3 separate regions of the Homo sapiens genome follow, and all the other regions are linked to region 1. Evidence: promoter capture Hi-C in 16 types of primary human blood cells and fetal thymus (Javierre and others, 2016). All regions are on one chromosome and are shown on one strand. The core of a region is centred on a gene start or on the middle of the fragment in contact, and the rest is flanking DNA. Distances in the headings are between cores, read along the strand shown.

What was found. The method cuts DNA at HindIII sites, captures the fragments that hold promoters and counts their contacts. A CHiCAGO score of 5 or more calls a contact.
Region 2: a fragment that was not itself captured here is called in contact with the fragment with the promoter of ARFGEF2 in region 1 in 3 of 17 cell types (naive B cells, total B cells and naive CD8 T cells); the score reaches 7.5 in naive B cells.
Region 3: a fragment that was not itself captured here is called in contact with the fragment with the promoter of ARFGEF2 in region 1 in 1 of 17 cell types (naive B cells); the score reaches 7.3 in naive B cells.

Annotation. Positions count from the first base shown.
Region 1 is chr20:48,919,888-48,923,507 of GRCh38, forward strand. ARFGEF2 (ARF guanine nucleotide exchange factor 2) reads left to right here and starts at 1,824. Exons shown (of 39, transcript NM_006420.3): 1 at 1,824-2,123. The coding sequence starts at 2,003. RefSeq lists silencers at 1,585-1,664, 1,895-1,994, 2,035-2,084 and an enhancer at 2,455-2,534. The HindIII fragment of the contact is 17,186 bases long and covers 1-3,620 here.
Region 2 is chr20:47,658,838-47,662,457 of GRCh38, forward strand. SULF2 (sulfatase 2) reads right to left here. Exons shown (of 21, transcript NM_001387048.1): 18 at 2,936-3,059; 19 at 860-893; 20 at 562-615. Among named protein-coding and RNA genes, the nearest start is that of SULF2, 120 kb to the right of the region's middle. The HindIII fragment of the contact is 1,011 bases long and covers 1,373-2,383 here.
Region 3 is chr20:47,710,284-47,713,903 of GRCh38, forward strand. The region is part of intron 3 of SULF2 (sulfatase 2); the gene reads right to left. Among named protein-coding and RNA genes, the nearest start is that of SULF2, 73 kb to the right of the region's middle. RefSeq lists enhancers at 313-813, 814-1,314, 1,095-1,264, 2,132-2,201. The HindIII fragment of the contact is 5,484 bases long and covers 1-3,620 here.

The DNA.
Region 1 (3,620 bases), core at 574-3,073:
CCCCTCTGCAACCGTGCTTTAGTGAGACAACAAATAGTCAACACGTACAAAAGCTCAGAAAGTGCTGTGGAAAACATCAGCTAGGGAGAGAGGGGGCTACTTGAGACAGGTCAGGGAAGGCTTCCCAGAGACGTCTGAGCTAAGACCCGAGCACTGGAGCATGCCTGCCTGGGATGTCTGTGCCTCTGAGGTTTCCAAGGAAGACAACTGTCTTTGCATAAGCCCATGGCTGCCCTTGGGGGAAGGGGCCCAGGGGACACCACTAATGGTTGCTGTGATAGCATCATTGTGGAATGGAGTGGAAGCTGCCTTGGGGCCAGAGTATCTGTCCCCCAGCACTCATTTGCAGGCTGTGTGACACTGGCCATCTGGGTTTCTTCCCCTGACTCCCAAAGCCCAGGTCCAGTTCACTGCACTGTGAGGGTTCACAGGTTTATAACAGGATAAACTACAGAGAGAGGTCAGTGCTTCCTGGTATACTATGCACAGCTGCGACACTCAATAAACAGAAGTTCACTGAACTGCAAGGTCACTGCTGCTGTGACAGGAGGGTCATATGGATGTGTGTATCTTGCCAGTGGCTGTGGTGAAACCCTGCTTGTGGAGAATAGACATAAACACACCTTCTCTCTCTCCCTCTCTGTCTTCCTTTCACCTCCCCTCTCCCTCCACCCCTTCCATTTCCTATTCTCCCAGCATGTTCTTTCCACTCTTCCTCACCTCCTTCCCCTTCACCTCCTTCCTACACCATTCCTTTTTCCATCTCTTTCCTGTTTTCCTAACTTGTTACTCTCATCTTTTTCTTTCTTTTCTGTTCTTCCTGACAGCTCCCCTTCCTACCTCCTCTCCCTTCACCCTTTCTCCTACTCTTTCCCCTCCTCTCATTTCTACCTCTCTTTCCTTTTCACTTCCCCTCTCCCTCCTGTCTTTCTCCTTTTTCTTTTACCTCTGTGCCTCCCTCTCACCTCTTCCCACACCACCTCATCTCCTCCATAACTAACTCACCTCCTTTTTGTTTGTTTGTTTTTTGAGACAGGGTCTCCTTCTGTGGCCCAGGCTGGAGTGCAGTGGTGCCATCACAGCTCACTGCGGCCTCAACCTCCGAGGCTCAAGCGATCCTCCCACCTCAGCCTCCCCAGTAGCTGGGACCACAAGCAGCGCCACCAGGCCCGGCTGTTTTACTTTTTATTTTGTAGAGAAAGGGTCTCCCTATGTTGCCCAGGCTGGTCTCGAACTCCTGGGCTCAAGCGATGCTCCCGCCTTGGCCTCCGGAAGCGCTGGGATTAGAGGCGTGAGCCGCCGCGCCGGGCCTCCCCCCTTCCCCTCCGCCGCCGCCTTCTCATCGCCCTTCCTCCTTCCTCCTGACGCCCCTTACTCCCGATCACTTCTCATTCATTCACCAGCTTCCAGTCCTCGCTCCCTCACCTCTTTTCTTTCCTACTCGCCTTCTCCTCCTGCCCCTTTATCATCTCTCCTTGTCACCGTTCTTTTTTGCCAATCCTCTCGTTCCCCTTCCTTTCCTCATCTCCTCTCTTACCCACGTCATCTCCATTCTCGTGCTCCCCTTCACCTCCCGTTACCTTGCGCTTCTCTCCTCTCATCTCCATCACCACCTCTCCCCGCTTTCGCCTTTCTTTAGCCCCCGCGTCCCCTATACCCTTCGCCCATGCCCACTCCCCTCCCCACCTTCTCTTCTTCCACCCTCCACCCTCGCCTTCTGTCTCTCGCCCACCTGACTCCGCTCCGCCCCCAGCCTTAGGCTCCGCCCCGCTGGGGGTCACGGGGCCGACGGACGCTAGGCGGCCGTAGCGGCCTCGCCAGTCACGTGGTCACGTGACGCGCTCCAACATGGCGGCGCCGTGGGGCCGAGGTGTCGCTTCCTGACGGGGCGGCGCGGACGGACGCGGCCGGTGCCGGCCGGGACGCCGGGCCCGCAGCCTAGCTCGCCATCTCGCTCACGCCGCCCGCCCGCGGGGCCGTCAGCCCCCGCCGGGCCGGGGCCATGCAGGAGAGCCAGACCAAGAGCATGTTCGTGTCCCGGGCCCTGGAGAAGATCCTAGCCGACAAGGAGGTGAAGCGGCCCCAGCACTCCCAGCTGCGCAGGGCCTGCCAGGTGGCGCTCGGTGGGTGAGCCGCTCCCGCCCTGCCCCGCGCTGGCCTCAGCACGTCGGCCGTTGCCCTATCCTACTCGGCCTTGGCCCGGCCTCCTGGCCTCCGCTTCCCCCCGATCCCGAATTCCACCCTTCCGGCCTCCTCCTCATTATACCCCCGGAGGAAGTGTTGCCCGGGCAGCTCGGGACTGGCCCAAGGTCACCTAGCAAGTTGGTGACAACCAGAGCTTGTTCCTCAGGGTTCCAGCTCAGGGCTTTTGCCACGATTCCTTGTCGCCCTGTTTCCTGGTTCCTCCCCTCACCACCTCCAAGTCCTAGAAACAGTAGCCCTTGCCCCAAGTTTTTTCGTTACCTGAGCTCTGCTGATTGGGGTTCCCCTAGGTGAACAGAGCATGTAGGAAGAGCCGTCCAACTGGTTTAGGGAAACCCCTGATTCTTGTTTTGGAAGTGCCCGTTGGAGAATGTTTTCCTTTGGTTTGGGGATCTCCCATAGCTCTTTCCCTCAAGGAAGGATTGTAGAAGGTGTTCTGGATCTCCCAGGCATTGTAGTGAGCAAGACATCTGCTTATTCCTAGCAGTCCACTAAAATACAAGGTCTTCAGCGCGAAGATACTTGTCTGACTTATTCATTGCTGTATCCCTTGCGCTTGCAACAGTGCCTGGCGCACAGTAGGTGCTCGATAAATATTTGCTGATTGAATGGACCCTCAGATTATGGAAAGAGGGAGAATTCTAACTAATAGTTAAAGGCTTGATAATTGATAGCAAAATCACTATCCTATCTTTCAGTTTTAATCATTTAACAAATATTTATCAAGTGCCCACTGCATACCAGGTACTGAGAATTCAGTGGGGAACAAGACGGACATGGTCCTTACCCCTATGGAGCTTATACTCGAATAGAGGAGACAAAATAATTAATTAAGAAAATAGGTGAGGTATTTTGGAATACTGATAAATACTATTTTGAAAATAAAACAGCAAGATGTGATAAAGAGGGCTTGAGGACTGCTTTCCATGGTCAGGAAAGTAATCTTTTCCAAGAGGAAAAGTAATCAGGTGGTCAGGAAAGTAATCTTTTCCAAGAGGGTGACACTTGAGCTGAATACTGAAAGGCAAGAACTATCCACCATATGGAGTTTCAGAAGAGAGTTCTTGGTGGGAGAATCCATGCATTTGACCAGAGCTGTTTTCAAGCTAATTCACTGCCCCAACGTCTTTGGTTTGGAATCTGTAAAGGCCTGTTTTTCCTAACAAAATGAGCAAATGGAAAGTTTGATTTTTAGTCACATAGTTTGAGATTGTTATCACCTTTCTCCTTTCATTTGCTACAAAGTATAGAGTAGTGTTCTTTTGGCATTTAGAAATAGGCTGGTGAACTTTGCACTTCCCTGGAAAGAAGGTCCCTGGCTTTCATCAGATTTTCAGAGGGCCCTGAGACTCCCTCAGGGGCCAACTATTGATGCAGAGGTGGTAGTCTAGATAATCTGGAAACAGTTGCTAGTCCGT
Region 2 (3,620 bases), core at 628-3,127, 1.3 Mb before region 1:
AATTCTCACACATACTTGCATTTTTGGATTTGGTAGACGAATGAGAAAATCTGGCGAACCTCAGCCCATTCCTGCAGGGAGCAAACTGGCCTGCTCCCTTTAGAATAGAGGTGAACTTTACAGGTTGCCAGTCTCTTAGTCCCTGTCAGCCTCCAATGGCACTGGAGTGAGAGTTTGTAGCATGGGCTTTTTGGAAACCATTTAATGAGGCCATCCTACTACTGATGTTGTATATCAGTTAGCACTTTTGTAGCCACAGCCTTCAAGATGCCTAGCAATTTGTAATATTTAAATGCTTCTCAACCTCTAAGTAATAGCTCAAGTTTACCAAGCACAGATTATAGCGAGAACAGCAGTGTACTGGACAAGGCATTAATCTAAAACATGAAATGGATTCAAGTGTTTTCTTAGGGAAAGATGTGCATTAGTACTTCCCCCCCACCCTCATCATGAGAACAAACAAAGGGTGGTATGTAAGAAATGGCATGCAAATAGAATAGCATTGGCAAAATGAAGCGGTCAGAACCAGATTTCTATTTGTAAGCTGGTTCCTCAACTCACAGTGATTTGGAAGAAGGTCTCTTCATTTCTGGCCACTTTCGACGCTGAAACTGCCTAAGTTTTCAAGTGTCAAAGGAGAATGAATGTTAACCATCACCAAGAAAGAAAAAGTCCCCAAAGAACTATACAAAGAAGGTCTCCTAGGTGACACCTATCTTTGGTGGGTGATCCTGGTCTCGGGCAGACCAGAGGGAAGGGCAGTTTCTCAAGATAACAGGTGCAGACTCACAGAGATGAGACTGAAGGATGGGCCAAGATAGGAGAACTTTGTTTAGGCTTTAATAATAAAACGAAATACCTGTATTGCTCATAGCTTCCTCCATCTTTAAGTCCTAAATGAAGGAGAAATGAAAAACAAAACAGGAGCAGATAGTTTAGGCAAAACAACCCCAACACACCAGAAAACCATCTTATGCTTTTTTGTCACAATCCCATGATGCTGATAGTGTTCCCTACTCAGAGTAGACTGAATTATGAGGGGTAGACTGAATTATGAGGGGAACCTGCCCTAAGTCTCCTAGATAGCCTTGTAGATTGCCTAAAATCCAGTGTCACCATGATCAGTTTCAGGACCCTGATGGCTTCATTCAGCGCTGACCTTAGTTATGGTGAGGGAGGTAGATGCAGGCATGAACATCTGTGCTCCAGAGGACAGAAAGCCAAGAGCCCTGACCAAGTGCAGGAGGGAGTTCCCCTTTGGGCTCTGGGGAAGTTTTCCCGAGGATGTGGCAGGATCAAGTGCGTGGGCTCCGGGGTCAGCCCACCTTGTTCACCTTACTCCTCCATAAAATGAGGATAAGATTCACCTCAAAGCTTATCAGCTAACACATGTAAAATGCTCAGCACAGAGCCTGGCACACAGTGACTAATATGTCATTGCACTTTGATCACAAGAGTAGCAGCACTTGAGTGGCAGAGATTAGGAAGCTACTAGTGAAAATTCTGATCATATCAGGCTCCTGACCAGAAGTATTAGTGCAACATCTTGTGTAAACACATTAGCTCTTCCCTCTTCATAACTAGAGCCGACGGTAGCGTCTGAATTCCTCCTAAGCTGTGTAGCCATTTTCCTGACATGAACTCTAGGCATCCTCCTAGACACAGTCCCTTCCCCAAGGGACCTTAAATACCAAAGGTTTTTTTTAGGCCACTCTCTCTCACTAGTAAGTGAACTTCATTTTTCTTTTAGCTTTGTTTTCTTTTTTTAATATATTTTTTTTATTTTTAGAGATGGGGCGACAGCTCTGTCTCCCAGGCTGGAGTGCAGTGGTGCTATCATAGCTCACTGTAACCTTGAACTCCTGGGCTCAAGTCTCCTCCCACCTCAGCCTTCCAAAGCCCTGGAATCATAGGCATGAGCAACCATGCCTGTTTAGCTTTTTTCATCTTAAAATATCTATCTGGTTGGCATTCTAAACTTAAAACTGCAGATTTTGTCCTGTCCCAAACAAAACTCAGGATTTACCTGGGACTCCTAATCCCGCACCTCCCATCACCATGTTGTCTGGGGGCTTCACCACCTGAATCTGAAATCCATCATCTTTACTGCTCCCACCTCTAGTCCAAGCCACCACCATTTCTCCCTGGATAACTGGGCCATCTTCGCTGTTTTCTCCCATAAAGTCCCATTCTCCACCTAGCAAATGTCGGTGCCCAGGTTAAAACCCTCCATTGGCTTCCTGATACACCACAAATGAAATCTAAACTCTACCGTGGCCTAGGAAGCCCCACACAGGGTGGCCCGATGCCCTCCCGCCACTCTCCACTGGCCTCAGTTGTGTTGGCTGCACCCCCTGAGCTGCTTTCTGCTCCTCACACTTTAAGCTTCCTGGAGCGCCAGCCCTCCACGTTTTCTCAGTGGTCGATTGCATCCTACTTTTCAGGACTCAGTTCAGAGGTCTGACCCTGGTTTTATTTAGCAGTGCCCTTCCCCAGTCACACTGGATTCTACCATCCAGTTTTACCCTTTCCATACAAGCAAGAGGCCTCCTGCTGTGGACTGCTCTTCTTAGGACAACACTGGCTCCACACAAGTCAGCGAGGATGGGGTCATCTTTAGTCAACATGGTTTCAGGTGTAAGTTCTCAGGAAGTGTTTGTTGAATGCATGAGTGGACAAAAGGGAGGACAATGAAATGAGACGGAATTCCGTGTGTTTCCTGGGCAGTTGGTGCAGGTGTTCCTCTCTCAGGAATCACAGCTTGTTAAAGGTCATCTGCCTGCTATGGACAGGGGCTCCCATGACTCGTCTGGAACTGTATCACCTCCCAAAGCCTGGTGATTTCAGGCTCATTCTTGGGGTAGACACCACCTCCTGAGTCCCTTCCTTTGGTTACCCTGCTGTCCAAGGGCCCCACGTTGGGGTGCCTACTCACCCAGGTCCATGTTTCGAGTCCGGGGGTTACACTGCTTGTAACCCTTGCAGCTCCTCAGCTCCATGAGCTGTACGTGTAGCTGGTTGAGGACATCCCTGTCCAGTGTGTTCACTGCATTCATCAGCTGGTTGCAAAAAAGGTAGTCTGTCAACAAGGTAAGTACAGGGACTCTCGCCCTGCCCTTCTACCAACCAGGGGACATATTTCAGGCAGGTGGCGGGTGGAAGGTGCTAGGGGCTGGTGACCTGTTTACTCCAACTTCTGCAAGAGCCAGCGTTTGGAAGAGTTAGGTGACTTTTTGGCTTCAAGTCCCACCAGGTTCACTCTTCATGAGAGTGAAAACTCAGGAGAATAAAAACCACGTCTGTGTATTTAACGTTGGAGTTCTGCAGCCACTGGTCAGGAAACTTCCCAAGCTTGGAAAGAAAGCCTTCCAAGTCTTGGTTTTATCAGCAGCCTTCATTCAGGGGCCCTCAGCTCCTCCTGATTGCAAAGCAGCCATTTGATGAAAGGACGGGTAAGTGGCCTGGGTTCTTGTGTAGTCTGGGAGCTACCGGTGAGGGACTTAACCTACCCCTTTGGTAAAGTATGAGGGTGAACCTATCTAAGGAGAAAGACTGCACACCTATATAGTAATTAAAGCATTTGTGCTGCTGACATTTAAACATCAGATTTCATTTAAATT
Region 3 (3,620 bases), core at 643-3,142, 1.2 Mb before region 1:
CGCCTTGGCCTCCCAAGGTGCTGGGAATACACGCATGAGCCACCATGCCCACCATATTTTTACTGTACTCTATTAACATGTTCACGTATGTTTAGATACACAAATACTTCCCATTGTGTTACCACCGCCTACAGGATTCAGTATGGTCACATGCTGTAGGGGGGTTTGTAGCCTAGGAGTAATAGGTCACGCCACAGAGCCTAGGTGTGTAGTAGGCTATGCCATCCAGGCGTGTAATGCACTCCATGATGTTCGCACAATGACAGAATCACCTAACGACACGTTTCTCAGCATGTATCCCCATTGTTACGTGACACACGACTGTACATTGCTTGGAACTGGCACATAGCAAGTGCCTACTAAGGGTTATATTTTCATTATCCACCAATGGGCCCGTCCCCTGTTATAGCCAACTTCTTGCTGTTAACATCTGGTTTAATGGAGTCCCCCTGCCCCCTTGGAGAGGATCACTAGCTCCCCATATCCTTCCTGCACCCTGCTTCGTGGCCCAGCAGGTCGGCCACTTCCCCTGCAGGCAGCTCTACGGTGGAGGCTCCACGCGGCTGCTTCCCCATTTGTCTGAGTTAAGTGCTCCTGGGGAACGATTCGGAGCCTGATGGGAGGAGGAGACCCTTCTGTTTTCTCTCCCAGCCCCAAATCTAACTGAAATTGCCTTGTAATAATTGCATTTGTGGTCTGTGAAAGCTGTGTCTCGTGGCGACCAGGGACTGAGATTAGCTGGTGAAAAACCTGGCACAGGGGCACACACGGCATCACTGGGGATACTAAGCAAGCCACGGACAATGGGGGAGACAGAGGGCTCCTGCAACCAGAAACCACTGGGAACCTCGGCCACCTCTCCCTGCTGCAGACATGTCCCCGCCATGCCGGGCCGGCGTAGGAACACGCTGTTCCTCCCAGCATCAGTTCTCCCTTTTCCCAGTAACACAGGTGGTAATGTGGCAGAGTGCCCAAAGCGTCTCTGCAGTCAGACTGTCTGGGTTTGAATCCTGGATCTGCCACCTCCTAGCTGTGGGACCACAAAGGACTTTGTCCCCTGTGGTTGTTGGCAATGAAACGACAGTGCACCCCCACCCACTGCTATGCACGTGGATGAACTGACAGGCATGCGAAGGGTGAAACAGGACCTGATCTGTCCTAGGGGCCTCCCAAGAGGCAGCCAGCAGGACAGAAAGCACCCGCTGCTTTCGGAGGACTTTCTCTCCCCCACGACGGGCCATCTGGCTGGAAATACCAACAGGGCTTCTTTAAGGACATCAGCAACTTTCGGTACATGTTCATCCCACACCATTTCCACCCACACACTACATTAAAGGTAATCGACAAACAGCTCTCTAAGAGTCCAAATGTTCCAGAGCTGACTCGCTGAATCATGCAACACCATTTCATTAAATATTTATTCACTTTGATTTGGCAATTTGTCCTCATATTTTGGAACCAGCACACAAACACATCTACGCACCTGCATAAATATACAACACATACATATACACACATGCATGAATACATATACACAAGCACAAATACACTACATATACATACATGAATATACAACACACATATACACACGAGTGAATACATGACATATAAAAATACACATATGCATTAATATATGGCACACATACGCACATGCATAGATATACAACATTCACATATACACAATGCATGAATATACAGGTACATATGTACATATACACGATGCAGGAAAATACAGTAAAAGCACATATACACACATACACGAATACACAACATACACATATACACAGGATATAAAATCCCAAAAAAGACAGAAATGCATCTTGCTTCTTCACCTGTTTCCTTCTCACAGCCAACTTCCAACTGGACTTCTGCCTCCGCAGCCTTCCCAGAGCCCAGACTTCCCCAAATGGCCAGAGGGCCCTTCTGAGTCCAAGAGCCATCAGGCCGTCTCCCTTCAGGGACGCACTGCTGAGCTCACTCTGTTTCAACTTCTCTAGGTCTCACGCTCCCTAGGAGCCAAGCTCTCTACCCCACCGAGCATTGGCACCTGCTCTTCCTTCTGCCTGGGACGCCTGCCTCCTCCTCACCGTGGCACCTCAGGTCAGATGAGAAGTTGTCCCTGGTCACCCATCCCTCTATAGTCACCGGGCTGTTTATTTCCTCTACAGCACTCTGCACTCTCTGAAATTATCCTATAGATGCATTTGTTTTCTTGTTTATCCTCATTTCCCCAACTAGGGTGTGGGGTCCGTAAGGCAGGAGCCGTGCTGCACTGTAGCCCCAGCGCAGTACCTGGCCCAGAGTGTGCACACGGTGAGCAGTGGCCGACAGGAGGGCTGGGTAGGTGCACCTGATTGAGGTACACAGCTGTGCAAGGTGGGGCAGCGCCCTCTAATGTTAAGCGTCACACCCCTCGCCCAGGAGTGCAGGAGAGGTGGCAACTGCATGTCTTACTGAAAGGGATTCTAGGCCTGGTGTGGTGGCTCACGCCTGTAATCCCAGCACTTTGGGAGGCCAAGATGGGCAGATTGCTTGAGCTCAGGAGTTTGAGGCCAGCCTGGGCAACACGGAGAAGCCCTGTCTCTACCAAAAAACCAAAAAATTAGCCAGGTGTGGTGCTGCACGCCTGTCGTTCCAGCTACTTGGGAGGCTGGGGTGGGAGAATCGCTTGAGCCCAGGAAGTGGAGGCGGAGGCTGCAGTGGACCAAGATCCTGCCACTGCACTCCAGCCTGGGTAACAGAGCCAGACCCTGTCTGGGGGGCAGGGGTGGGGGGAGAAAAAGAAAGGAAGGGATTTCTATTATAGTGTCTGCAGCACAGTGCTACATGCTGAAAAAAATGGGTCAACGGAGCAGGCAGGGCTGCCAACCTGAAGCACATCTGTGTGCAGAATACACTGAACCAGGGGTGATTTTGCCCTGCAGGGGACACTGGGCAGTGTGTGGAGACATTTTTCACTGCTATGACCTGGCGGGGTGGGGGAATGTGCTACAGGCATCTATCGGGCAGAGGCCAGGGATGCTGCTGACCATCTTCCAGTGCATGGGATGGCCCTCCTCCCCCCGTAAAGAATGATCCAGCCCCAAAGTGTCACCAGTGCCGAGGTTGTGAAACTCTGTGTAAAGTGCACAGTTTAAAAAGTTGTCCAAATGTACCATTAACGACAGGGTTGCAGTGTGGCTTTAAAGAGCTTGGTTTGCAGAGTCAGAGGACTCTGACTCCTTGGGCAAGCGAGTGCTCCTGTCTGAGCCTCAGTGAATTCTTCTATAAAAATGGGGGCAGCAACAAATGAGATTGTGCATAAAGAACTCTGAAAAAGGGCCAGGCGTGGTGGCTCATGCCTGTAATCCAAGCACTTTGGGAGGCCAAAGTAGGAGGATCACTTGAGCCCAGGAGTTTAGGTCTGCAGTGAGCCATGATTGTGCCACTGCACTCCAGCCTGGGCAACGGAGTGAGATTCTGTCTCTGAAAAAAAAAAAATAATAAAAAACAAAAAAACAGAAACAAAAAAGAACTGTGAGTTCCCAAAATACAGTCTGCTTTCCGTTTTCAGGGAGGGGGATGAAAACTTGGACCTCTGGAGAAATAAAAATGGTTGTTAGAAACCAGATGTGACACCG